Regions from separate parts of the Homo sapiens genome. Here regions 1, 2, 4, 5, 6 and 7 are each linked to region 3. The links are contacts of gene promoters, found by promoter capture Hi-C in blood cells and fetal thymus (Javierre and others, 2016). All regions are on one chromosome and are shown on one strand. Each heading gives the region's core, a stretch centred on a gene start or on the middle of the fragment in contact. The rest is flanking DNA. Distances are from core to core; before and after follow the strand shown. Region 1 overlaps OFD1 (OFD1 centriole and centriolar satellite protein). Region 2 overlaps EGFL6 (EGF like domain multiple 6). Region 3 holds the start of TMSB4X (thymosin beta 4 X-linked). Region 4 has its middle 58 kb from the start of EGFL6. Region 5 overlaps RAB9A (RAB9A, member RAS oncogene family). Region 6 has its middle 11 kb from the start of RAB9A. Region 7 overlaps TRAPPC2 (trafficking protein particle complex subunit 2).

The links. The method cuts DNA at HindIII sites, captures the fragments that hold promoters and counts their contacts. A CHiCAGO score of 5 or more calls a contact.
Region 1: a contact is called between a fragment that was not itself captured here and the fragment with the promoter of TMSB4X in region 3, in 1 of 17 cell types (total B cells). The highest score is 5.8, in total B cells.
Region 2: a fragment that was not itself captured here is called in contact with the fragment with the promoter of TMSB4X in region 3 in 1 of 17 cell types (megakaryocytes); the score reaches 5.2 in megakaryocytes.
Region 4: a contact is called between a fragment that was not itself captured here and the fragment with the promoter of TMSB4X in region 3, in 8 of 17 cell types (neutrophils, M0 macrophages, erythroblasts and 5 more). The highest score is 10.5, in neutrophils.
Region 5: a fragment that was not itself captured here is called in contact with the fragment with the promoter of TMSB4X in region 3 in 2 of 17 cell types (total CD8 T cells and monocytes); the score reaches 6.5 in total CD8 T cells.
Region 6: a fragment that was not itself captured here is called in contact with the fragment with the promoter of TMSB4X in region 3 in 1 of 17 cell types (M0 macrophages); the score reaches 5.9 in M0 macrophages.
Region 7: a contact is called between a fragment that was not itself captured here and the fragment with the promoter of TMSB4X in region 3, in 4 of 17 cell types (naive CD8 T cells, total CD8 T cells, naive CD4 T cells and 1 more). The highest score is 11.3, in naive CD8 T cells.

The regions. Positions count from the first base shown.
Region 1 is chrX:13,758,617-13,762,851 of GRCh38, reverse strand. OFD1 (OFD1 centriole and centriolar satellite protein) reads right to left here. Exons shown (of 23, transcript NM_003611.3): 16 at 2,132-2,737; 17 at 1,641-1,767; 18 at 408-508. Among named protein-coding and RNA genes, the nearest start is that of OFD1, 26 kb to the right of the region's middle. RefSeq lists enhancers at 1,603-2,102, 3,409-3,498. The HindIII fragment of the contact is 2,363 bases long and covers 951-3,313 here.
Region 2 is chrX:13,615,085-13,618,856 of GRCh38, reverse strand. EGFL6 (EGF like domain multiple 6) reads right to left here. Exons shown (of 12, transcript NM_015507.4): 8 at 804-1,127. Among named protein-coding and RNA genes, the nearest start is that of MIR6086, 27 kb to the right of the region's middle. The HindIII fragment of the contact is 6,179 bases long and covers 1-3,772 here.
Region 3 is chrX:12,972,517-12,976,478 of GRCh38, reverse strand. It overlaps TMSB4X (thymosin beta 4 X-linked), which reads right to left and starts at 1,369. Exons shown (of 3, transcript NM_021109.4): 1 at 1,311-1,369; 2 at 118-233. The coding sequence starts at 217. RefSeq lists enhancers at 1-650, 1,490-2,329, 2,453-2,572, 2,593-2,852, 2,863-2,932. The HindIII fragment of the contact is 8,223 bases long and covers 1-3,962 here.
Region 4 is chrX:13,509,996-13,513,861 of GRCh38, reverse strand. No RefSeq gene overlaps it. Among named protein-coding and RNA genes, the nearest start is that of EGFL6, 58 kb to the left of the region's middle. The HindIII fragment of the contact is 4,936 bases long and covers 1-3,866 here.
Region 5 is chrX:13,698,635-13,702,813 of GRCh38, reverse strand. The region is part of intron 1 of RAB9A (RAB9A, member RAS oncogene family); the gene reads right to left. Among named protein-coding and RNA genes, the nearest start is that of RAB9A, 12 kb to the right of the region's middle. The HindIII fragment of the contact is 5,121 bases long and covers 1-4,179 here.
Region 6 is chrX:13,676,161-13,680,206 of GRCh38, reverse strand. No RefSeq gene overlaps it. Among named protein-coding and RNA genes, the nearest start is that of RAB9A, 11 kb to the left of the region's middle. The HindIII fragment of the contact is 3,321 bases long and covers 1-3,091 here.
Region 7 is chrX:13,716,527-13,719,226 of GRCh38, reverse strand. TRAPPC2 (trafficking protein particle complex subunit 2) reads left to right here. Exons shown (of 6, transcript NM_001011658.4): 4 at 2,549-2,693. It also overlaps a transcript of OFD1 not described here. Among named protein-coding and RNA genes, the nearest start is that of TRAPPC2, 17 kb to the left of the region's middle. The HindIII fragment of the contact is 3,043 bases long and covers 1-2,700 here.

The sequences.
Region 1 (4,235 bases), core at 883-3,382, 790 kb before region 3:
GAGGAGGGAGATTGCAGTGAGCCAAGATCGGACCACTGTACTCCAGCCTGGGCAACAGAGAGAGACTCCATCTCAAAAAAATAAAAATAAACATTCTTGTATTCCATCAAAGGAAAAAATAAATAAAAATCACTTATTTAAAATCTGATAAGTTAATAATTCATTTATAAGCTTAGCTCAAACTCTGAAATTATTAGTCATACTGAAATTTTTAAAAAGTAAACACACACATGAAAATCATCATGGTAGAAAAATGAGGTGATACATCTGTACTTGTGGTTGTATCACAAAATAATAATGACCCAATTTGTAACTGCTTTTCTTTTTAAACCAATGGATACGTTTCACCAAAACTAAGCTTTCTAGATTTTCAACATATAAAAACTGGTATTTATATTTGAACTTACATTCAAAAGATGATTCAAACTCCTCATTATCCTTAAAAGCTAGCTTGTCCACATCTGAAAATTCACTTTTGTCTTGAAGTTCAGTTTGTCTTCGATAAAGACTAGATTGGAAGGATAAAACTCGTGAAGTTTCAATAATGGAAAACCAAAGAGTACAAGGTGACAAAAAGCCTTTTGTGACTCAAGAAAAGGCTCTACAAAATTCCCTTTCTCTTTGTCTTGTAAATAGCTCCACCTCACCACCACCACTAGGCATTGTTCTCAGCAATTAATACCTGTTTAATCAGTTACTCCTTGTAACTATTTCATGCTGTGAAGTAGGTACTACAGTTGTTAATAAAGAATAATGTTGTACTCTGAATGCTATTCCTAGGAAATAACCATAAAACATTTCTGAAAAAAAATTCTGCACACTATCAGCATGAACCAGATGAAGATGCAACACCACAACCTTGAGTGAGCAAAGCGCCCTAACTCAGCATATGTGTGTGTCTTATCCTTCCTTTTGGCTTATCACAAAAAAAAAAAAAAAAAAAAAAAGCTTTAGGACTACGACAGGCCCATGTGGCAGAGAACTACATTAACATGCAGATGCCCGAGATCGAGCCTGGAGCTAAGGAGTCAGTTCCCTCTGCTGTGGGGCCCAGGTATGGGTAGGAGTCTGCTCATGACTCAAATCATAGCCTGGCTGACCCAGTGGACTAGTTTCTAAAAACATCCACTCCTTCCTGTTTCAACAATCATACACCAGAGCCTGCTACCACGTTTGAATTTATTTCAATGATATGCAGGTCAGAACCTTATCTGTTTATATTTCAATGCCAAAATATTTTAAAAATGACTTTTTAATGATGTGTAAAATTGTTCCAACTTTATAAATAACCTCCATTTGTTTGCTTTCAGATTTTGTACATTTGTTTTTTATCTTAATAAACCAAATCTATTCACAGAACTAGGAAGATGCTTATTAATACCAGATTGCATGGTCCATATATCAAGTTTAGCAAATAAGCATTATCCACTTATTTGCTAAAAGCAATCTTTTTCCCTCCAGGTAATTTAGATGATTCTCAAAGATGACATATCATTTTGCAATCTGATTGCAAATTCTATACTGCCACATGATCTATAATAATTATCTCAAAAAAAAAAAATCCCAGTAAAACAAGTGAAGGCTGACAGAGCAAGTAACATTATTCAGCTGAAGCTAATCAATCAGAACGTTATACTTACCCCACTTTCTGCTCCGGAGGGCTGGAGACAGGAGGGATGGAGAGGCTGTGCCTAGACTCAGTGGGTGATGGTAGGGGCATTCTGTCAGGACAAGGACTGGGGGAAGCAATGTGTGATCTGCCCAGACCTAAGGTGCAGAAAGAACCAAGGCAAGAATATTACCAATTGCACGGAGAAGATACCAACGTGGTTTCTAAAGAGCTCTACTAGTTTGAAAATAAACTGTTATCCTCACAAATAGCCAATTATGATGCATAAGATCCAGAAAACTAATGATTCAAGCACCTAAATTAAATTGCAGTGGCAATAATAAAATGCAGGAAACCAACAGGCAGCAAAGGCAAGGCAACTATCACTCTCTAAACAGCTCTGTGTGCCAAACACTAGACCTTGCCACTCTGGCCCGCTGACCCTCACGGCAACCCTGTGTCGTGGGCAGGGTGGCTACCCAACTCCAGAGCACCCCGCAACCCTTTGTGCGGGTGGCTTACCTTCCAGATACATTTCACTTTCGAGGCTTCTTTTTGCTTTTGGAAGGGGTGTGGAAGAGAGGCGTCTGGAGGAAGTGCCCCCGCGGAGCCTCGAGGCTGCACTGCCTGTCAGTGCTTCCACGACGTCATTCCTTTCTTCAAGTGTGCCCACTTGAGGCTGCTCAGAGACAACTCTGTCCTCTCCAAAAATATGTCTTTCCGGGGAACTGGAAGTAATGTTTTTGAAGGCTTCCAGCAAGTGCAGAGATGGTGGGCTCTTTGCTGCTAGTGGGCTTTTGGCAGAGTTTTTAATGACTCTCCGATGGTAACTTCTGAAAGCCTTTTCCAAGCGTTCGGCCTCTTGCTGAAGCTCTTTGACCCTTGCCTTAGTATTGGCTACAAACTCAAGGTCAGAATCAGGGGAACTACCCTCCACCCATGCAGTTGGATAATTTGTGATCCTTGATGCAACCATACGTGCTAGAACGTTTTCCTGTTTAAAAGGATTGTTCAAGAAATCCCCACTTATCTCACCATTGCAAGGCACCACATTGCCATTTATTAATCCATTGACAGAACGATCGATCACAGACTGCTTTGGATTGCAGTACACTTCATTCTCTAGGGCTGCAGGGTACAAAAAGCCAATTTCAGAAGTAAGTGGACAAGGCAGAGAAGAAAATATACTTGAGAATATTATTTTTTTGAAAAATGGAAGAGAGTAATAAGGACAAACTTGCACTATACAGTTTCTGAAGCCATGGTAACGATAACCACTAACATTTACTGAGAGCTTATTGTACCAGCTACAGCTTTGTATGTCTTTTGTAACATGATATAATTTCAGAATCCATTATGCACAATTTTGAAAGCCACAAGGCTCTGAGAACTGAAAATTTATTCATAATTTATTTGGTGGCAAAGCCCAACCAGACTTGAACTCATTTGGTTGAAAAGTTTGACCTGAACTGATGTAAACCCATTTATAATCTTTATTTATCCCAGCATGAATATTCATACAGTTGACTGCAAAATAATTAATGTGCTTTACTATAGGATGCTGTTCAGAACTCCCAGGGCTATTGCGAAATCCACAGCATATGGCCCGAGTTTCATATAAGGAAGTGAGGACCTGCATTCACAACAACACTGTGGTCAAGAAACTCTCACTGCTCCCATTTTACAGATGGGGGGACTAAAGCTTACTGAGGCTGGGTCACACGGTTAGCAAGTCTAAGAGCTACTGGGCTTTCCTAATGCAAAGCCAGTGCACCTGCCCCTCTCTCCTGCAATGCCTCCCCGTGATGCTACAAGAAAGAAGCTTGCCCTCGGCAACACATGCATGCGAAAGAGTTCTATCCTCATTCAACTATTTTTTATTGATAGGAGACTGCTATGATTTCAGCTGTGAGAAGTTTCACAAACAGAACTGAAAGAAAATGAGGAACAGAAAAAAGCAGAAACGAGTAGAGATAAAAATAAAACAAGTGCTGGTAGAAGAGAGCAAGGAGCTGATGAGGAAACAATGCAGGTGGGAACAAGGAAGGCTCAGACCCAGTTGAACTGGTAACACATACGTACTTTCTTTGAACTTGAAAGCAACTGAAGAATAAAGTATCTGAACTTTAATATCCTTCTTACGAAGTAGGAAGGGGCAGAGATGCATCCACAGTGAAGACACAATAATAAAATGATACCAATAACCATTTCCTGAGTGTCTTTTATGTCCCAGGCACTGGACTGAAACCCATTTCATCTTTTTCATCATGGCTCAGTAGGTATTATTATCCCCATTACAAATGAGGAGACTGAGGCCCAAGGAAGTTAAAGTAACATGCCCAAGGTCAAACAACTTCAAAACGGGTCCAAAAGAAGAACAGTTCTGATTCTGAAGGCAATATTCTTTTTGCTAAACCACCCTGCTTGTCCTGTATATTTATATATCTATCAAGGAATCCGTAAAACTACTGAATTGGTGTTAACATTGGGGTAACAAATAAAAAAGGAAATCCTATAATGAATATGGGGACTTCTATGTTACCACCACGCCTTTCCTATTGGGGCATGAGACTCTCCCAAGCCATGAGGCACCTATGAAGCAAAATACTTTTGCTGATGATCCAGA
Region 2 (3,772 bases), core at 132-2,631, 640 kb before region 3:
AGAGAATGTCACCGGATGCTAGTTCTTGGACGGGTGGGCCTGTGTCTACTTTTCCTTTGGTTAAATCCATCTGGCATTTGTATATATGACCACCAGTCACAGAGCCGAGACTAGATAAGGCAAAATATAGAGGGAGCAACAAATGCCCAGCCAGAATGAATGGGAAAGTCTCAGTGTAGAGATGCAGGGTGGGTTAATATGGAAACCCTCCTGGGGGGACTGAGCCTTATGGTGGGTTCTGCACAGCAACTAGTGAAAAGGGAGTTACGGCAGTTCTCTAGTTCACATAGAAAACTTAAGCTCCACTATAAAATTTGTCCTCCTACATTTGTCGATTTTGGCTTTTAAAATCACAACCATACAACTGTGAGGTTCCATTTTCATAGACTAGGCCTGTAAAAGTGCCTTCAAGAAATAAAAAGGTAGAGCTTAGCAGATCCATGTGGTGAGCCTCTCTTTGATTTGGGGGCATGCCTCATGGAGAGCTGGGCAGCCAAACCACTGCCCTTGCAGGACTAGCAGGCTTCCTTGGCTGGAAGCTAGAAGAGAAGGTCTGTGTCAAATAGGAAACCCCCCAAGTAGGGGAACAGGACTTCCCCTCCTTGGTTCCTAGAGCAGCAGGTTTGATTGGGTATTTGCAGAAGGTATTCGTTTCTAGACATTACAGAGAATGTTGCTTCTCAGGACTTAAGACCCAACCCATTTTACTTAAGCTGTGAAACCGGCTTTTTGTCTTCTTTCATTTGCCAGGAGAAATTGCAATTCATTTTTCATAAAACATATAAAATAAAAATAACACTCACAAAACACATCTCCTCGCAGGCTTCGCTCCTCTATGTCATTCTTCAGGGCTTTCTCTTCTCTTTTCTCATCCTCAAGCCCCTCTTTCATTTTCTCTTCATTCCCTTTTTTACCTCCATGAGAGTTCCCGCCTCTGGAAACTATCTCTTCATAGTTGAAGGGCTGCAAGTTCACCTTAGGGGTAGGAGTCCTGGTGGGTTCTGGGGTAACATTTTTAATTTTTGCCTTCTTTTTCATGCTGTTTTTGTGAGCAAGCAACTTCTTGATTCTGTCTTTGATGGTACCAGGTGCTCTGAGGACTTCCTTCACAGAATTTTCAGGGATAGCTAAAACAAATAAGAGGCAATATGTTCCAAATTGGAAGATAATTAAATTACTCACAAAATGGAGCATTTAAAAAGTGTTAAAGTGTAGTAAGTGAATGCTTCCAGAATGAACCCACATGAGGCTCTACTATTTGATGATAAATTAGGAAGAACTATATTTGTATTGTTTTAAGCAGTTCCACTGTTATGGTAGTTATCTTAATTACCTTTTGTTGCTTTTGTTTTGCTTCGGAGACCACTTTAGTGAAACACTTATTACTACCCAGTTGGGCTACAGATCCCAAAGACATGGATTTGCCATGTTCGTCTAATATTTCTGCTTTCATTGTGGTATTCTTCAAAAACTGGTATTGTCCTGATAGCCCTATAGATTTGTCCAAATTTGATATTCAAAAATTACAGCTACAGCATTAGGTTGAACCATATAAATTGCTAATAATGGACCATTTGTGACCTACAAAAATGGTGACTTATGGTGCAATATACACATACCCAATTTTCTTTCTCTCTTCTCTCTCCCCTTTGAATTTTTTCACCTCAGTCAACCATTATCTAAAGCTAAATGAGTTTATTTATTAAATATTTCAGAGAGGCTTCTATACTTACTATTTTTCATTCGTTTTCTATTTCCCACCACAAAAGTAAATTACTTTAAAAATGTACCTCTAGTCTCTCTACTAAAAATACAAAAAATTAGCCGGGCGCGGTGGCGGGCGCCTGTAGTCCCAGCTACTCGGGAGGCTGAGGCAGGAGAATGGCGTGAACCCGGGAAGCGGAGCTTGCAGTGAGCCGAGATTGCGCCACTGCAGTCCGCAGTCCGGCCTGGGCGACAGAGCGAGACTCCGTCTCAAAAAAAAAAAAAAAAAAAAATGTACCTCTAGATCAATTCTTCTTATCCCTCAGTGGACTAATGACCCTTGGAGGAAAAATGTTGGTGTCGAAGAACGCAAGAGGTACAAAAAAGTTCATTTAGTCCAGGACTCTTGTCTTGTCGATGAGGCAACTGGGTGTTAAGTGACTTGCCCAAAGGCACTCATCATGTTAGGGACGGAGCTAAGATTTGGCAGTAGAGCATATGAATGACTATTTTTCTTTTCTTTTCTTTCTTTTTTTTTTTTTGAGACAGAGTTTCACTCTTGTCACCCAGGCTGGAGTGCAGTGGCATGATCTCGGCTCACTGCAACCTCCCCCTCCTGGGTTGCAGTGATTCTCCTGCGTCAGCCTCCCCAGTATCTGGGATCACAGGTGCGTGCCACCACACCTGGCTAATTTTTGTATTTTTAGTAGAGACGGGGTTTCGCCATGTTGGCCAGGCTAGTCTCGAACCCCTGACCTCGGGTGATCCACCCACCTCGGCCTCCCAAAGTGTTGGGATTACAGGTGTGAGCCACCATGCCTGGCCATGAATGTCTCTTTTTTCCAGTCCTATTTCTATGATAGATTTATTTCTGCTTTAAGATTAAGGTTACTTTTCTCTAGACTGTTTCAAATTCCTTGAGATCTATAATTCAAAGATATATGTCTCCTTTTCAGGGATATACTCATGATAATTCAGAATATCCAACTGATGTAAAGAAGTAATTAATTTTTAAAAAATTAAATACACTGATATTTGAAATCAAATATATTGTCTCACTATAAAATATCTAGGCATGTACTAATCTAAGACTAAGCAAGAAAGGGTCTAATAACACCTCAATCAATTCACTTAATTCTATTATTTGGACATAGTTTAGAGAGAAGTGAAACAATGGAGTAGACATTAATTTTGATGCCTAAAAAGAGTACTATAAAAAATTGGAGTGGGATTTTATTAGAATATTTTTCTTAACAATGTTTTAACCTCTTCTCCTGCTTTGTTCCTTCTCCATCATTTGGCTGATTCAATCTATATCAAAGTAGTAGAAAAATAAACAAGCAGAAGTCCACAATATTTGGGGTAACCAAACGGGGGAAAAATGCTTTGAAAATATGTATGCTCTTAATTAATAATTGCTTTTACTTTGGAATCAAAAGAGCAACATTTTTCTTTTCAATGAAATATTCTAGTTATTTATCATTGTGACAGCCTGACTATAGGTAGAAAACCAACAAGCACTAATACAAGTAATGCATCATTACTCATTTTCCTGACCTTCAGATAGCCTGTTTCAGCTACTTTGCCAGAGATTGCATGTTAAGTTATGACCGTAATGTGTGATCATATATAGACCTTCCTCTGGAGGCCCCACTGTAATTCCATCCATGGTCGACTGCATCTTTCTCCAGCACCTGGCAAGAAAAATTAACAGGAAACCCCTATTCCCTGCAAATTTCCTTTTTGCAATCAGTAACATAAAACTAAAGACCTTTAATAAATAATGAGGAAAGGGTTTCAGCTCACACCAGGCAAACCTAAACATCTGCTTTCAGTTTCTGCTTTGAAGTTTCAAATGTTCCTATTGAAAAGAAACAAAAACTAAAACATCATAATCTTGATAGTGTTGACAATTTCATTCTCTTAGTATGTAAACAGAAAGCTGGGCAAGGATAAAAATGCACTTTAATGATATGCATATGCATAAGTAGATTTGGATTTATCTAGGTATTGCTGTTTCAAATTTGACATTATGACGGTTTTCTCTTAAAGATTTATTGATTATTGC
Region 3 (3,962 bases), core at 120-2,619:
GCTCTTCCCCCGCACTCCCCCCTCCCGAATTCTTCCCGCGGCCGCTCCCAGCCTCCCGCCCTCCCACCGGCCGCTCCCACCCAGCCTTTCTAAAGATGGGGGTGGGTCGGAGCTCACTTTCTTTGGAAGGCAGTGGATTTTTCTCTTGCGTCTCTGTCTTCTTCAGTTTCGACTTATCGAATTTCTCGATCTCAGCCATATCGGGTTTGTCAGACATGGTTGCGGAGGAAAAGCTGCAGGGAGCAAGCCAAGAGCGAGCGTGAGGAAGAGCCACCCGCCCCGCTGTCTCTGGGCTGGGAACTGCACTTCTGCCCTCCGACCCGCAGCCTGAAAAAAACCCTTCTCGCTCTCCTACTGCTGCCGTTCCGCGCTCACGAGCTTCCTCTTTCTACAGAAAAAGAGGCGACACCCCCCGCGCCCCTCCTCCCCATATTTCAAAACGCTGTGGACCAAAGAGGGCGGATGCCTCTCAAAGCCGAATCTTGCAGAATAAAGGAAATTGACCACTGCGAATTGTTAATTACAGCGTTTAAAATTAAAGGCTGGCTAGGACAAGGAAAGAAGAGGAAAGCCACTTCCAAATTCAAGTGGGAAAAATCGGCAAGAATTCCTAAAATGGAGCCCAGGTAGGAAAAGCGTTTCCATTTCCTAGCCGCGGCCTCTCCGCAAGGATGCGGGCCGGATCCGGCTTTCTAGTCCTCTCACAAAGGCGGCGGCCGCGGCTGGAGCTTCCGACCACCGCCCTACCGGCTTCATCGCCCGCGTCACAATGCAGCCCCGCACACAAAGCGGCCGCCGCGCGCCCCGAAGCCGGTCTTGCCTGCTCTCCCGGCAATTCGGCATCCCTGGCACACATGTCTCTGCAAGAAGGACTGTAAAGATGTCATAGCACAGCCCCGCCGCCGCCAGGCTGCACAGATGCAGCCCGCGCAGCCGTCCGAGGCTGGGAGGAGGCTCGGGGCTCGGAAGATGAACCTCAGAACAAAGGACTTGTCTATTCCCCCATATCTCAGCCTCCAAGGCAACGCACAATACCTTTGCGGGCAAACACTAAGAAATTTTTTAATGTCCCCTCCGAGCGGCACGGCAAAACGCCAGTTTTTCGGTTTTGTTCTTAAATCATCGATTTCCCCACCCCATTATCCAGTATCTAGGGTGTTTCGCATCCCCCCAGCTCCCCAAAGTAGCCTTCCCGGGGAGAACCACTCGGGCTCGGATTTAGGGAATGCCTTCACAGGGACGCGGATGATGAAAGGGCGGGGACGGAGGCAGGACGGCAGGAGGAAGGAGGCAGGGGCCCTGGGGCTCACCGAAGCGAGGCGCACGAGTACGAGCGAAGTCTGGTCTGCGCAGTGGCCACCACCGAGTTGTCGGGCGGGGTGCGGCGGGCGCAGCTTTATGGGCGCTCCTATGTAAATGAGGTGATGTCACCCGCCGGCCCGCTTAACTCCTTCGCGCCGCGTCTCGGAACGGCATCCGGAGGCCTGCCGGGCTTTTGGGGAGGGGAGCCCCACCCCCACCCGGGGTCCACTAGTGCATGCACCCTAACCACAACGATGGCGAAAAAAATGAGCAAAGCACCCTCCAACACTTCATAACACATTTTCCCCTTTTACGTTTATTTCATTACGATGAATTTTTGCAACAGCAGCGCAGAAATTGCTCTTGGGGACCAGTGCATAATAACTAAGGGTCGGGGTGGCACCTGGGGTGACAGGCATTCTTTTATTTCGAAACTGCCTTTGTCTACTGTGGACATCTCCACACAAGGGCGCGGTGTCCCTCCCTGGAGGGCCTGGCCCGCTGCAGGGGTACGATTCCTGTGACTCAGCTTTCAGTCCAGTGGCGGGCATGCGCCCCACCCCGGGCCTCTTTGTCTTCCTCGCTGGCGTTCCTCTTGCCTTGGGTGGGACGTAAAGCACCCTTAAGTGATTTTAAAAGAGAAAGTTTCATCACTGAAACATCCATATTGTTTCATCAGCATAATTTTTGTGAGCACTCAACAGTAGTATTTGCTGGGTGTAAGGTAATTTGGAGTTTATAGGGTAAAACACCTCCCTCTTAGCAAAATAAGTCAAGCTCAAGCTCTGCCATTGACTTTACTGCCGGACAATGAGGAAGTTCTTTACCTTCCTCTTCCTTATTTTCATAAATTTTAAAAGTGATGGCTAAGGAGGCCAGCGTTGAATTCCAAAGACTACAGTTACATTATCTCTAATGTCTTAAGATGAAATTCAAAAATCAAATTATATTTTCAAGGGAGCGTTTCCAGCACTAGGACATCGCTGAAGTGCATCTGCATCTGGAAATATAAGAGATTCGGGTAGAGGGAAGCAGTTTTCAAAATGGCACCTGACTCTGTGAATACCAGTGACCCACTTGCTACTGAAAATTAGTTACAAATACCATGCCACGCGCCTGCAAATGGCGTGTGAAAGGAAAAAGACTCGCCGGTTATAAAGAGGCCTAGCTGTGATTATTTCTAAGAGACAAGGCAGTGTGCAAAATATTCCTTCTCCTTTTCCGTGGCCTGGGGAAATGTTTTTAGAAACCCCTTGCTAATCATTTTTATGGCACAGGCTTTTGTCTCGCTGGGGATTAGAGTCAACCTTATATATAGACCCTTGAATGCCACTGCCAGCAGCTTGGACTTCCCCGTTTCTCCATCTACTTGACTTCCTTTTTCCTGGGGAGGAAGGAGGTGGGGGTGAGCAGGGGCAGGTGACCGTCTGGTCCCCTAGTTAATGCTCTGCTGGGTGGCTGCCTTCCTGGCCTCCGAATGGGGCACTGGACCTGTTCGTGCATGCACCAAATGTCACCTGTCTGGTAACAGCCCCCCCGCCCCTGTTCCATGTTGGGAGTCTACTTCATCGTTGAAACACAGAAAAGATCTTGCAGGGTGCCTTTTCGCCCGTTTAGCTGGCAGCTGCCGTTGTACCGACACCGTTTCCGCAGGTTCTGTGATTCTGTTTCCCCTCACCCAGCTGCTGTCGAAAATCATTTCTTTCCTCCCAATGTCTCCTGATGACAAAGGAGTGCCACTACCTTCTCCTGGCTTCTTCTCCCAAGGGCCTTTCCTCAGAAAGGGTTAGGCCTCACTGAAGCAATTCTCCAAAGGAGATGGACGAATGCAAACTTGGAAATGTCTGGAGAAGTTTTCCAGTGCGGTAGCAAGCAGCCTTCCACTGTGCTGAGACACTGATGGAGGGCAGGTGGAAACAGAGAGGAAGAGAAAGAGAGACGACTGCTTAAAGGAAAAGAGTTCCCATGATTGGGACTGACCTGCCAACCGGTCAGGAGACCTAGAGAGACAGGAAAGGGAAGGGTGGTGCAGATACAAGGAAATGCAAACCAAAGGAATATTCTTAAAAGTTGCATGACTCTGGCCATGTGAATGAATCTTTCTGTGCTGGAGTTTTCTCATCTGTAAAATGGGTTCATTGCAACACCGACCTCACAGGGTTGTTGGGAGGAGTAAATGCTTCGGACAGTGCATGACAATTAGTAAGCTCTTTCTATTGTTATTATTCGTATGATTTAGGATGGAAGGTTGAGGAAAAATAATAAAATAATTGTCTTAGTGTTTAGAATTAATTAAAAATTTTAGGTGTCTTGATATTATTTCTCCTATAGAGACATTTATATATTATTATATATTATTTCTATATAATTAATACATATGAATATATATTATTATTTTCACTTACAAAATGTTGATAGAAGATCTTTTGGTAGTTTTACAGCAAATAAAACATGACAACTCCTGTCGGTTGATATTTTCTAAGAGTCAGGCATTGTAACGTAAGTTTTACATTTGTTTTTTCCTTTCTTTCCCACCGCCTTTCCATAAGAAATTTCCAGATGGGGAAACTGAGGCTTAGAGAGCCATCATTGGGTTACCTCAGCTGGTAGCCACTCTGTTATATATGCCAAGAGCATGTAAAAGTCCTCCCCACATCCTC
Region 4 (3,866 bases), core at 578-3,077, 540 kb before region 3:
AAAAACATGGATAGAAATGAAGATCATTATGTTAAGTGAAATAAGCCAGACACAGAAAAACAGACATTGCATGTTTTCACTTACTTTGGGGATCTAAAAATCAAAACAATTGAACTCATGGGGATAGAGAATAGAAGGATGGGCCGGGCACGGTGGCTCATGCCTGTAATCCCAGCACTTTGGGAGGCCGAGGCGGGCAGTTCGAGACCAGCCTGACCAATATGGAGAAACCCTGCCTTTACTAAAAATACAAAATTAGCCAGGCATGGTGGTGCATGCCTGTAATCCCAACTACTCAGGAGGCTGAGGCAAGAGAATCGCTTGAACCCAGGAGGCAGGGGTTGCGGCGAGCTGAGATCGCGCGCCATTGCACTCCAGCCTAGGCAACAAGAGCAAAACTCTGTCTCAAAAAAAATAGAAGAATGATTTCAAGAGGCTGGGAAGGGTAGTTGGGGGCAGAGGGGCTGGAGGGAAGGCAGGGATGGTTAATGGGTACAAAAAATAGTTAGGATAGATGAATAAGGCCCAGTATTTGATAGCAAAACAGGGTGACTATATTCAATAATAATTTAATCATACATTTAAAAATAAATAAGAGTATAACTGGATTATTTGTAACTCAAAGGAGAAATGCTTGAGGGGATGGATACCTCATTTTCAATGATGTAATTATTATGCATTGCATGCCAGTATCAAATCTCATGTACCCCATAAATATATACACTATGTACCCACAAAAAATTTTTAAAAAATTTTAAATGTTGAATAACTAGTGAATAAACTATTATACATTCATACAATGGAATACCATGCATCTTTGAAAAAGAACCAGGCAGCTCTTTTTATATCAATATGGAAAGGACTCCAAGCCATAACCCCACCCCCACTTCCCCAGGACTGAAGCACTTATCCCTTCGGATGCTGGAAAAGTTGGCAAATGACACTTTACAGCTGAATTCCCGTCTGGAAATTGCCCTTGGCTGAAGAAAGCCACCTCTCCAAGTTTGTGACCCCTTTCTTGGGCAGCCCACTTCTAATGACTGATCAGTGTGAGGTTATAAAGGCCTAGCCTCTTTGTGCTAATTTGAGACAACTCGTCAGAGCCCTCCCAAGTCTAGAACTCTCGCAGGATTGCATAGGTCTTTGTTGTGACTTGCATAGCAGCCCAAATCCTCCCTCTGCCCAGTCTGACTTCCTTTACTCTCCCAGAAGTCTTGATCTGCAGGGTCCCCACCAATGAACTTCCTGCATACAAATCTTCATCTCACAGTAAGCAACCTGTGATGATGGTTAGATGCAAAAAGCAAAGGGTATAGCAGCATGTGCCACGTGCTACCATTTGTATTAAAGAGGAGGGAGGAAAGGCTCTAAGAAGCTGTGTTGGTGCCTTTACTTCCCTTCCTTCACACTTTGAGAGTCCCTAAGAAGTCTGCAGCTATCACAATGTCAGTATGTCTTCGTGATTCTTTTTAGAGTGACTTCTTAACTTGAAAAGTGCCTGTAATTCCTGAAAGTATGAGAAATTGAATGCAGGCCAGAGTGACCCTTGCATGGCTGGTCCCAGGAAGCATCCAGGAGGTTCCCCTCACAGTCTGCTGTGGGAAACACAAGGAACCCACAGTCTCTCCTTAGAGGAGGACACCATTCACAAAATCTCACGCTCAGACCTGTCTGCTGAGAAGACAAATGATCCCTTAGCTCAGAGGTGCCTCTCATTTTGCTGCCAAATTTCTTTCTTGACCTTTGACCCCATTGCAGTCTTCTTTCATTTATCATGTGCTTCCCTTCATGAAAGAATTCTTTAGGCTGAGTGTGGAGGCTCACGCCTACAATTTCAACACTTTGGGAAGCTGAGGCTGGTAGATCACTTAAGTTTGAGACCAGCCTGGGCAACATGGTGAGACTCCAAATCTATAAAAAATACAAAAATTAGCTGGGTGTGATGGTGTGTGCCTGTAGTCCCAGCTACTTGGGAGGCTAAGGTGGAAGGATGGCTTGAGCCCGGGAGGTTGAGGCTGCAGAGAGCTGTGATTGCACTACTGTACTCCAGTCTGGGTGACAGAGTGAGACCCTGTCTGAAATAAATAAATAAATAAATAAATAAATAAATAAATAAATAAATAAATAAAAGAATTATTTACATTAAATTCCTGGGTGTTCCTCTTTCCCCAATAAAATATTCCTGAGATTTGCCTCAGAAGTGGTAAGATATGTTCAACATTTTAATTCACTTGTTCATACATTTGTTCATTACTTCAACAGTTACTTATAGCATCTCTTGTGTACTGTGCTGTGTGCTAAGGTGTAAATATTTGTTCAAGTCTCCCTCTTCTGGAAAAACTGTCCCATACTGCTGCCTCCTTCTCAAGCTATTCTCTTATCTCACTTCTTCCATTTTCTGTCAAAAGACCAATTTCAACCCAGTGTCTCCACTTCCTCACCCCTCCTTTTATTTCTAAACCCACAACAATCTAGCTGTTATCTCCTCAACTCTGTTAAAATACTTCTCTGTCATGTCACTATATTAAGGAAACTAACACTAATTTGGGTAACAAACAACCTCCAGTTCTCAGGGGCTTAATACATTAAACAGTTATTTCTTGTCCTGTCATTGCATTTTTTTTTTTTTGAGACAGAGTCTTACTCTGTCACTCAGGCTGGAGTGCAGTGGTGTGATCACAGCTCACTGCAGCCTCTACCTCCCAGGCTCAAATGATCCTCCCACCACAGCCTCCTGAGTAGCTGAGGCTACAGGTGCACGCCACATCCGGCTAATTTTTGTGTTTTTTGTAGAAATGAGGTCTCACCAAATTAGCTGGGCATGGTGGCAGGCACCTGTAGTTGCAGCTACTTGGGAAGCTGAGGCAGGAGAATGGCATGAACTCAGGAGGCGGAGCTTGCAGTGAGCCGAGCTCCTGCCACTGCACTCCAGCCTGGGTGACAGAGCGAGACTTCCTCTGAAAAAAAAAAAAAAAAAAAAGAAAAAAAAGAAATGAGGTCTTACCATGTTGTCCAGGCTGATCCTGAACTCCTGGGCTCAAGCAATCATCCCTCCTCAGCCTCCCAAAGTGCTGGGATTACAGGTGTGAGCCACCATAACGGACCTAAGATATCCTTTTTGCATATCAAAAACTTTTGCACAACAACTATGCAATATTCTGCACGTGCCCTTTTAAAATTTTAATTTACTTTGAGACCATTCCATGTCAATATGTTTGGATTTACAGCTGCATTATTACTGTTATTTTATGTGGTCTTTCCTCAGTCTTGACTCTCATTTCACTAGACTCTTAGAACACTGGTTTGTCAGGTTAGGAATGAATTCAGTGATCACATGGTCCCAACCTCTCATTTTACCCATAAAGAACTACAATCTGCCATAGTGGAAGGATATTTTTTAGCTGACCCTTTACTTGGGTCATATCTGAGGTTTCATAAATCTATGAGTGCATTAGGGTCCTCTCAAAAGGTAAGTTGAGGCCCATAAAAACCACCAGTGCACATAACACATATTAAGTAGTCAGTATGGATACACTTCTTACAGCTAGAAAATGAACTCTGTGGGATGTGTTGCCTGACAATGAGCAGAAAGTCAGGGAGGACTTTCAAGTTCCCAGCTTTGGGATTGGTAAGTCATGATGTACTAACTGAGGCTAGGAACAGCAGTTCCAGGGGGAAGTTGATGGGTGCAGTTTTGGATATGCTGAACTTGAGCTGGTCAAAGGAAGTTCACATGGAACTTTCTAAGCAGGCAGTCAGATATATTAATTTGAAAGAGTGCTAAGGCTGGAGATGCAGAGTGGAAAGTCATCATTTACAGGATACAGCCAAAGTCATAAGAGTGCATGAAAATATGCAAAAAAATT
Region 5 (4,179 bases), core at 1,181-3,680, 730 kb before region 3:
TTAAGTCACAACTGTACCTCACAAAATGAGAGGTATATGGTACAAAGTACAACTATTCACACTCAACCAAAAATCGAAGAACACCTTAAAATAGTGCAAGGGATTCTGCCCACCATCTCCCTCAGTGAGTGAGACACACAATGTGTAAACCTGGGGCTCTCTCAATCACACTCAGATTCCCCATGCCACTATCTTACGGAGTTGCCTGAGTCCATGAGAGTCCAGCCACCTGGGGGACTTAATTTACATGCAAACATGATCCTGTAACACAGGCCAACTATTTCACTTGCTGAGCTACAGTTAAGGAAAAAGAGGTAACTTCTAATATCAGAGGTAAACTAGGCTGTGTTACACTGTGTTAATGAGAGACTGTACATCGGTTTCTAGTGTGATGTGTTCCAAAGCAATGTCTCCATGATCATTTTAGCCACGTGCTGCCATGAGAACACAGCCCTCACTAAAGTCTGATTCTGCTGGAGGGAGATTTGACCCAGGGGAAGTAGGTTTGACCACAGGCTAAGCTCAGCAGGAGAAAGAGAAAACTATGAGAAAAGAGGAGGGAGCAGGAACCAGAAAGTGGAACCAATCCATGCCAAAGCCCTGCCAAAGAAGCCTGGCCCTGGCATGAACTGGGAGAACTCAAGGTAGGCCTGAGCACCCGGAGGCTAGAGAGTGAAGAGTATGCTACAAAGACAAGACTGAAGGAAGAGGCCCAGGAGCAGGGAGGCGAGTAGAAGCCATGGAAAGGATTTCTGCCTGTACTCTAGGAATGATGGGGACCCTCTGAAATAGCTTCAGCAGTGGGTGACCTGGTCAGATAAGGAGTCCAGAAAGCTAACTGGATGCAATGGGAGAAGGGCTGTGGGTGAGGTGGGGAGGAAGGCCTTGGACAAGCTGGGATGGATGCTGCTATGATCCCTCTCCACTAACAGTGTCAGCTGGGCTTACGAATGAAAATTGAGGTGGTTATACCTCACACTTGATCCTCCAGTAAGATATTTACTATATGACTTCGTGTTTTACCTTGTTCACATTCAAATCCCTGGCCCTTTACCTGTCTAACTCCTAGTCAGCCGTGTGGATGCAGCTAGACCTCACCTCCTCCCGAACACCTACTGGACATCTCCAACTGAACCCCCTTCCTCGACACTCTTAACCATCCTGTGCGTGCCTCTACCATTTACCATAAGGAATTCTGTAATTGACATGCCTACTATGTCTAATAAAAGTGAAACATGCTCTCTTAACCCACATTACATGGATGTGTACTATCCAATTACAGAAATGTCCATACATTTCTGAGTTGTCAATGTTTTAGATTGCACCAAAAAAATGCATACCCATACTATTATCAAACCACCTTCCCCTAAAAAGAAAGACAATGTCCATCAATTAATGAATGGATAAATAAAATGCATCATACATCCATGCAATGTTGTAACGTAGATAAACCTCAAAAACATTATGCTAAGTGAAGGAAGTCAGAACAAAAGGCTACCTATTGTATGATTCCATTTATATAAAATGTTCAGAATAGGCAAATATGGAGATGGTAGATTCATGGTTGTCAACGGATGGGGCGGGGGGCAGTGGCAGGTAAAGGAGGAGGGACTGCTAATGGGTATGGGGTTTTTTTGGGGGGGTAATAAAAATATTCTGGAATTAGATAGTAGTGATGGTTGTACAACTCTGTGAATATACTATAAACACCAATCAACTGTATACTTTAAAAGGGTGAATTCGGCCAGGCGCCATGGCTCACGCCTGTAAACCCAACACTACGGGAGGCAGAGGCAGGCAGATCACTTGAGCTCAGGAGTTTGAGACCAGCCTGGGCTACATGGTAAAACTTCATCTCTACAAAAAATACAAAAATTAGCTGGACATGGTGGCGCATGCCTGTAGTCCCAGCTACTCAGAAGGCTGAGGTAGAAAGATCACCTGAGCCTGGGGAGGTCAAGGCTGCAGTGAGCTGTGATCACATCACTGCACTCCAGCCTGGGTGACAGAGTGAGACCCTACCTTGAAAAAAAAAAAAATTTTTACTGTATGTGAAAATATATGTGCAAATCTCCTGAGAATTAAAAATATGACCCTAGAATTAGATTTACACTACTAGAGCTACAAATGTTCTCCTTGTCCCTTCAGCAGCATCCCTTTAAATAAATCATTTACATGTACAACAGACACTACTTTAGGATTCCCACACCACGTGCCGGTACCAACATATGCTGTATGTGTCATACACTAATCCGAATGTAAAGTTGGATAAGCAGGTCACTGGCAGGAAAACAAATGAACCACATTGCCAGCAGATACGGCAAAATTCAAAAGACAAAAGAACATTTTATGTTAACCCTTTCCTTCTTATAACACTATTTTCCCAACTTTTCCATTATGTACTTTTATCTTATACTATCAATTGTTCATGAATAGTTTATCAGTAGTACCCTTTTCTCTGGCCTTCTCCAACCCCTTGCTGGCTTCCAAAGCCACATCCTACAATAAACCAAGGGGAAGAATAGAAAGCCTCAAGGTCCAAGCATCAAGAATTTAAATCTGCTGGCCACGCACGGTGGCTCATGCCTGTAATCCCAGCACTTTGGGAAGCCGAGATGGGCAGATCACTTGAGCCCAAGAGTTCAGGAACCAGCCTGGGCAACATGGTGAAACCCCATCTCTACAAAAAATACACAAATTAGCCAGGTGTGGTGGTGCCTGCTTGTAGTTCCAGCTACTTGGGAGGCTGAGGCAGGAGGATTGTTGGAGAGGCAGAGGTTGCAGTGAGCCGAGATTGTGCCATTGCACTCCAGCCTGGGTGACAGAGTGAGACTCTGTCTCCAAAAAAAAAGAATATAAATCTCTAATATGACTGTGTATGTGACTGAAGTTAGACTTTTTTTATTGGTCCTGGATCTAATTGTCTCCATTCTGACAGATAACTAAATTCATTTATTTATTATTTTTATTATACAGGATTTTGAGCATGGCATTCAAAGAGCTATTCAATGTCAGTTACAAGCCTGTCCCAATTATATCCCTACTACTCACCATCCCCGCACCTATCACTGGCATTTTCTGTCCATATCTTTGCTCGGGCTGTTACTTTGGCCTGGGAGGCCCCTCCCTACTTCGACAGCTATGACAATCTTAGTCATCAGAAGCCTAGTCCAGATTACCTCATGTAGGAAGCCAGGACCGCCCCAGCAACCTAATCTTTCTCTTTTCTTTGCTCTCATCATTTCCACCTCTTTACAGCTCTCATTTACTTATGCTCTAATCACCTTCAGTTGTGTATGTGTCTGTTTCCTAATTACAATGTCAACTCCCTGGGAGGGACACACAACACCTAATTGCATCCATTCACTTGTCCCTTTTTTGTTCTGCCACTTCTCGTACAATGCTCTACATTTGGTGAGGTGCAAATAAATGCTACATTGAGAACGAAGAGTATATTACTTCCTCTTTTATTCTTGTTATTCTATTATTATTCTATTTGTGCTTTCTGTACCTAAAATTCTTTGTTTCTCTATCAGTTCTCCCCGCATTCTATTTTTGAGGTCTATTAAAATGTGTGGGTAGGAACAAAAACATTGATTCTTACTTGCAATCCCAATGAGAATCCCACTTTAAAATAAGTACTATTGACTGACTGCGACAGGGAGCTGGCAAATGCTGAAAAACGACTACATTCCTTAATAAGCTGCCAAAGGGAGAGCAGGCATCATTTGTAAACTGCCTTCTCAAAACTTGAGATTTTAAAACACATACTCTGTAACCCCTCCAAAAACTTAAAATGAATTTATCACTCCTGGTTTAAATTTAGGAACAGATTTTTTTTTTTTTTTTGGTCAAATTCACAAGTTCCTTTGGATTCACCCTGAATGTCCTACTTAGAGGTGTACTTACCACTTCATTTCACTTCATAGCTTGAGGAAATGAGGTTCAAAGAAAACCAGGGAAACAAAAGCATGGATAATCTGAAAATTATTTCTATTTTTGCTGGAGCTGTATTTATTTCCTCATAGCTTAATTTAGGCGTGTCTCACTTAACAGCCTAATTGGTTCCACTGTTTGTTTCTAAAAACTTCCTGATTGTCTTACAGAAATTTATGAGCAAGAAGCAAGTCAAGGAAAGTCATTATGTCTAATGGGTACCAGCTCTACAGCAAGAAATTA
Region 6 (4,046 bases), core at 182-2,681, 700 kb before region 3:
TATACTTTAAGTTCTAGGGTACATGTGCACAACACGCAGGTTTGTTACATACGTATACATGTGCCATGTTGGTGTGCTGCACCCATTAACTCTTCATTTACATTAGGTATATCTCCTAATGCTATCGCTCCCCACTCTCCCCACCCCATGACAGGCCCTGGTGTATGATGTTCCCCAACCTCTGTCCAAGTGTTCTCATTGTTCAATTCCCACCTATGAGTGAGAACATGCGGTGTTTGGTTTTCTGTCCTTGTGATAGTTGGCTCAGAATGATGGTTTCCAGCTTCATCCATGTCCCTACAAAGGACATGAACGCATCCTTTTTCATGGCTGCATAGTATTCCATGGTGTATATGTGCGACATTTTCTTAATCTAGTCTATCATTGATGGACATTTGGGTTGGTTCCAAGTCTTTGCTATTGTGAATAGTGCTGCAATAAATATACATGTGCATGTGTCTTTATAGCAGCATGATTTATACTCCTGTGGGTATATACCCAGTAATGGGATGGCTGGGTCTAATGGTATTTCTAGTTCTAGATCCTTGAGGAATTGCCACACTGTCTTCCACAATGGTTGAACTACTTTACAGTCCTACCAACAGTGTAAAAGTGTTCCTATTTCTCCACATCCTCTCCAGTACCTGTGGTTTCCTGACTTTTTAATGACCGCCATTCTAACTGGTGTGAGATGGTATCTCGTTGTGGTTTTAATTTGCATTTCTCTGATGGCCAGTGATGATACACATTTTGTCATGTGTCTGTTGGCTGCATAAATGTCTTCTTTTGAGAAGTGTCTGTTCATATCCTTTGCCCACTTTTTGATGGGATTGTTTGATTTTTTCTTGTAAATTTGTTTAAGTTCTTTGTAGATTCTGGATGTTGGCCCTTTGTCAGATGGGTAGATTGGAAAAATTTTCTCCCATTCTGTAGGTTGCCTGTTCACTCTGATGGTAGTTTCTTTTGCTGTGCAGAAGCTCTTTAGTTTAATTAGATCCCATTTGTCAATTTTGGCTTTTGTTGCCATTGCTTTTGGTGTTTTAGACATGAAGTCCTTGCCTATGTCCTGAATGGTATTGCCTAGGTTTTCTTCTAGGGTTTTTATGGTTTTAGGTCTAACATTTAAGCCTTTAATCCATCTTGAATTAATTTTGTATAAGGTGTAAGGAAGGGATCCAGTTTCAGGTTTCTACATATGGCTAGCCCGTTTTCCCAGCACCATTTATTAAATAGGGAATCCTTTCCCCATTTCTCGTTTTTGTCAGGTTTGTCAAAGACCGGATGGTTGTAGATGTGTGGTATTATTTCTGAGGGCTCTGTCCTGTTCCATTGGTCTATAACTCTGTTTTGGTACCAGTACCATGCTGTTTTGGTCACTGTAGCCTTGTAATATAGTTTGAAGTCAGGTAGCGTGATGCCTCCAGCTTTGTTCTTTTGGCTTAGGATTGCCTTGGCAATGCAGGCTCTTTTTTGTTTCCATATGAACTTTAAAGTGGTTTTTTCCAATTCTGTGAAGAAAGTCATTGGTAGCTTGATGGGGATGGCATTGAATCTATAAATTACCTTGGGCAGTATGGCCATTTTCACAATATTGATTCTTCCTATCCATGAGCGTGGAATGTTCTTCCATTTGTTTGTGTCCTCTTTTATTTTGTTGAGCAGTGGTTTGTAGTTCTCCTTGAAGAGGTCCTTCACATCCCTTGTAAGCTGGATTCCTAGGCATTTTATTCTCTTTGAAGCAATTGTGAATGGGAGTTCACTCATGATTTGGCTCTCTGTTTGTCTGTTATTGGTGTATAGGAATGCTTGTGATTTTTGCACATTGATTTTGTATCCTGAGACTTTGCTGAAGTTGCTTATCAGCTTAAGGAGATTTTGGGCTAAGACGATGGGGTTTTCCAAATATAAAATCATGTCATCTGCAAACGGGGACAATTTGACTTCCTCTTTTCCTAATTGAATACCCTTTTTTTCTTTCTCCTGCCTGATTGCCCAACTCAGGGCTTTGTTATTAATCTGGTAAATTTTAAATTCCATAACATGAATGAAATGAATTTATCTTGAAAAATCTATTTTTCTGGAGATTGGGTTTGAAACATTAGTAATAGTAATATTTGATCCCATTTATTAAGGTTAGATGCAGGGCTTCTAAAGTGTGACATCACTGTACAAAACCAAAGCAAAGATGAGGGCATATTGAAATTCTACTGTAATTTGAAGTAAAAATCTATTTTGCAAAATTGCATTAAGCATCTGCCAAACCTAGAGTTAAACCTTGGGGCTTTGAGGGGATGTAAATCTCACTACTAAGACCTGCATAGGAAACTTGATGGGCAATTAAAGAAAAAAAAATAAAACATGTTCACAAATAATATAAAGCAGTGATAAGATAGAGCAGAGATGGAATAAAGGAAGTTCATAGGATGGGCTAAGTATGGAATTCTGTAGCTTAGAGATATAATGGAATTGTGTGAGGAACAGATTACTTTTCAATAAGTCATGCAATGCAAACAATTGTATACCACCCCCACACACACGCGCACATACACACACATACATATGTATATTTTTTGAGATGGGGTCTCACTCTGTCTCTCAGGCTAGAGTGCAGTGGCACAATCTCAGCTCAACAAGCAATTCTCTGGCCTCAGCCTCCCAAGTAGTTGGGACTACAGGCATGAGCCACCAGCTAATTTTTGTATTTTTAGTAGAGACAGGGTTTCACCATTTTGCTCAGGCTGGTCTTAAACTCCTGAGCTCAAAGCAATCCACCTGCCTTGGCCTCCCAAAGTGCTGGGATTACAGGCATGAGCCACCATGCCCGGCCTACATATTTTATACCACAGGATATGTATGTTTGGGAGGAGACATACAGGGGAGAAAAAAATTGATCCAACTTCTAAGCATTCCTAAATTTTGTCCTTACTAAACACAATGGCTCTAGTGATGAAATTTCATTAAATTCTTTTTTGCCAAATAAGTTACAAAACTAGGGTAAAATATCCTTGCTTCCTTTTTTTTAAAGAAAAAAAAATCTTGTGACCTTCATCTGTAGATAACAGTGAGTATCTGAATTTCAAAATGTCAAGCTTTGCATGTGGTTAATCAAAAATAATTTTTGACACAAAAGTTGGAAGGAGTATAATTGTGACAGGTAGAAATGTCAAATTATTTATGCAAATTCAGCTAAAGATGTACTTTAAGTAAAGGTCAGTATAGTTTATTTGGTTAGTAAAATATGGTTTACTTCTTGAGTTAAGAAAAAAGAAATGATGTGAAAGAAGCCAGACACAAAAACCTACATATTGTATGGTCCCATTTGCGTGAAATGTCCAGGATAAGCAGATCCATAGAGACAGAAAGTAGGTGGCGGTTGGGGGGCTGGGGGCTGGGAAGAGGGTGGAATAGAGAGTGGCTATTAACTGGTACTGGATTCCTTCTTGGGGTAATGAAAACATTCTGGAATTAGATAATGATGATAATCGCACAACTTTGTGAATATACTAAAAGCCACTGAATTATAACAAAAATAAATGCATATAAACTTTAAAAAACTCGTGAGTTACAAATAGTGTTTATGTATATGATTTGGGGAAAATTATTTTCAAAGAGTCACTTCTAGAATTACTAACATATAGCCAAGTACAGTCTGTAATGCATGCTAACAGACAACTAAGTCAACAACCACAAAATCACCAAACAATTTTAATAACCTTTTCAACTATATTCCTTAAGTACCTGCAGGGTCTTCCGGCAAGTAAAACAGTGAACAAATAGAATTTTTTTAATCTCCTTTTCTTTCTAACAATGCTATTGAACATTAAAACAGAAAATAACACACAAGAAAGGGAAGGATTATAAGACAATTGAACAATTAGCTTTATAATAGAGTTTGAGCATATATGGCCTAAGACTTTATAGTATATGTGAGGTTTACTCAAAGATACTACATACATGGAGAAGAAAAGCTCCAAAATGTTCTGGGGAAAAAAAATGCTCTCTCTTTTCCAATTGCCCATTCTTTCCACTCTCAAATTGTTTTGCCT
Region 7 (2,700 bases), core at 201-2,700, 740 kb before region 3:
ATTTTAAGAAAGATTACCATCCCAAATGCTTAAAATAAAACCATTTGGATCTTATTTATTTATTCTTTTTGAGACAGAGTCTTGCTCTGTCGCCCAGACTGGAGTGCAGTGACACGATCTCAGCTCACTGCAACTTCTGCCTCCTGGGTTCAAGCAATTCTCCTGTATTAGCCTCCCAGGTAGCTGGGATTATAGGTGCGCACCACTGTGCCAGGCTAATTTTTGTATTTTTAGTAGAGACAGGGTTTCGCCATGTTGCCCAGGCTGGTCTCGAACTCCTGACCTCAGGTGGTCTGCCTGCCCTCGGCCTCCCAAAGTGCTGGGATTGCAGACATGAGCCACTACACCTGGCCCAGACCTGTAGAGTTTTGACACGAGAAGAGCCCAGTTCTTTCCAATTTCTGTTTCTAATAAATTGCTGACAAGTTTGCTATGTTTCTCCCAACCTCCAAAAATTGGCTTTAATGTCCTTTAAGGAATTGATGTTTTAAGTTAATTGTAATGCATAATATATGGTATTTTTCAACTATTCAGGCCTTGCCACCAAAATAAGATAGGCATTTGTTTACGGGATTCTCTATGAGGTGGAGTTGTGACATTATTTTCTCATATTATGAGAACACTACTCATTAAAACTTGTTTTTGAGGTATCTCTGTACCAGTACTGCTTTGTGGGATGCAGCTACTTGTATGTAATTTCTGTGCACTCCACTGCCCTTGTGTTGGACAAAGCACACATAAAAATACTTTGTTGCATAACTTGATTTTAGTTCTTTCTCCTGCTACCACTCACTTTCTTAAAGCGTTTTCAGTTTGCTCCTAATTCTTCAGGATTGATCATCATTGTAAAAGAAAACACTGCTGTGAGCCAGACACAAAAACATCCATTTCTCTAAGGATTCACTTAGCTTTGTCATGGCAACATGAGTGAAGTAAAACATGCTTTAACTATGCATGGGATTCCACGGCAACGGGCCGCCCTCCTCCAGCCCAGGCATGAGAACAGCCTCCTTGGCAAGGAAGCCGTCTCAGTTTCCTATGGCTGTTGTAACAAAGTACGAAAAACTGAGTGGCTTGGGACAGCAGAAATTTATTGTCTCAGTTCTGAGGGCCACCATCTGAAATCAAGGTGTCAGTGGGGCCATGCTCCCTATGAAGGCACAAAGACAAGGGTCTGTCCAGGCCTCTCTCCCAGCTTCTGGGAGTTCCTTGGCTTGTGGCAGCATAACTCCAGTCTTCATGTGGCATTTTTCTCCCTGTGTGCATCTCTAAATGTTCCCTTTTTCTAAATACACCAGTCCATTGGATTAGGGGCCCACCCTACTCCAGTGTGACCTCATCTTAGCTAACCACATCTGCAACAACCCTCTTTCCATATAAGGCCACATTCTGAGGTACTGTTGCTTAGGACTTCAACAAAGGAATTTTAGAGAGGAAACACTTCAACCCATAACAGGTATTCTTTGAAAAATGGCTTGGGTTTTTTTGAGACGGAGTTTTGCTCTTGTCCCCCAGGCTGGAGTGCAATGGCGTGATCTCGGCTCACTGCAGCCTCCGCCTCCCAGGTTCAAGCAATTCTCCTGCCTCAGCCTCCCGAGTAGCTGGGATTACAGGCATGCACCACCACAGCCGGCCAATTTTTGTATTAGTAGAGATGGGATTTCACCATATTGGACAGGCTGGTCTTGAACTCCTGACCTCAGGTGATCCACCTGCCTCAGCCTCCCAAAGTGCTAGGATTACAAGCATAAGCCACCGCGCCTGGCCAAAAAATGTATTTTCAAAGAACTACATTGGAGTAAGACTGCATTCCAAGTTCTGAATTCCGTCTTCACATTATGGTCAGACAGTCCCACCTTCTGTTCACTTAAGCCATTTCAGCCCAGGAAAAGGACACTCCCAGCTCTGACAGGACTGTGTCCTGCTATTGACACAGGCGACTGCTCACAGCTGGGGCTGAGCATCACCTCCCACTACTCCTAGGTCCCGCTGTCATGTAAGCTCCATGCACTGGAAAGAGGCCTCTGGCAGGCCGTTATAAGCGCCATTTCAACTGTCTCTACTGCTTACCTGGTGCCACTGTGCAGGAAGCCCCGCCCTCTCAGTTTCCTCCCAGACCTTGAGGCCTAGTGTGAATGGCACCTCTTCTCCACAGGATCTTGTTTTTTTTTTTTTTTTTTTTTTTTTTTTTTAACATAGTATCCTTTTTTTACATGTTTAGATGGTTACAGAATTCGGTAACTTCCTTCTTGAAACATGAAAAAAAATTTATATGAAAAAGATTTTCAATAAATGATTTTGTATAAATCCTCTATATACACATTTCATTTATTAATTGGCTGTTTCTGTTGAGATGTAGATATCAAATTTAAAAATAGAATATAATATGAAAACAGATCTTTTATAAGTCTCATGACAATAACAAAGTATAAAAGCAAACTGTTTTTTCCCCACAAGAAAACCATCTATAGAATTTACAGAATGAAATGTCAGCATTCTCGATGCCATATGCAAATGTTAATCTGTGGTTGCTCACACTGTCATCTAGGACGACCATCGTCATCTGAACCAGTTCATAGCTCATGCTGCTCTCGACCTCGTAGATGAGAACATGTGGCTATCGAACAACATGTACTTGAAAACTGTGGACAAGTTCAACGAGTGGTTTGTGTCGGCATTTGTCACTGCGGGGCATATCCT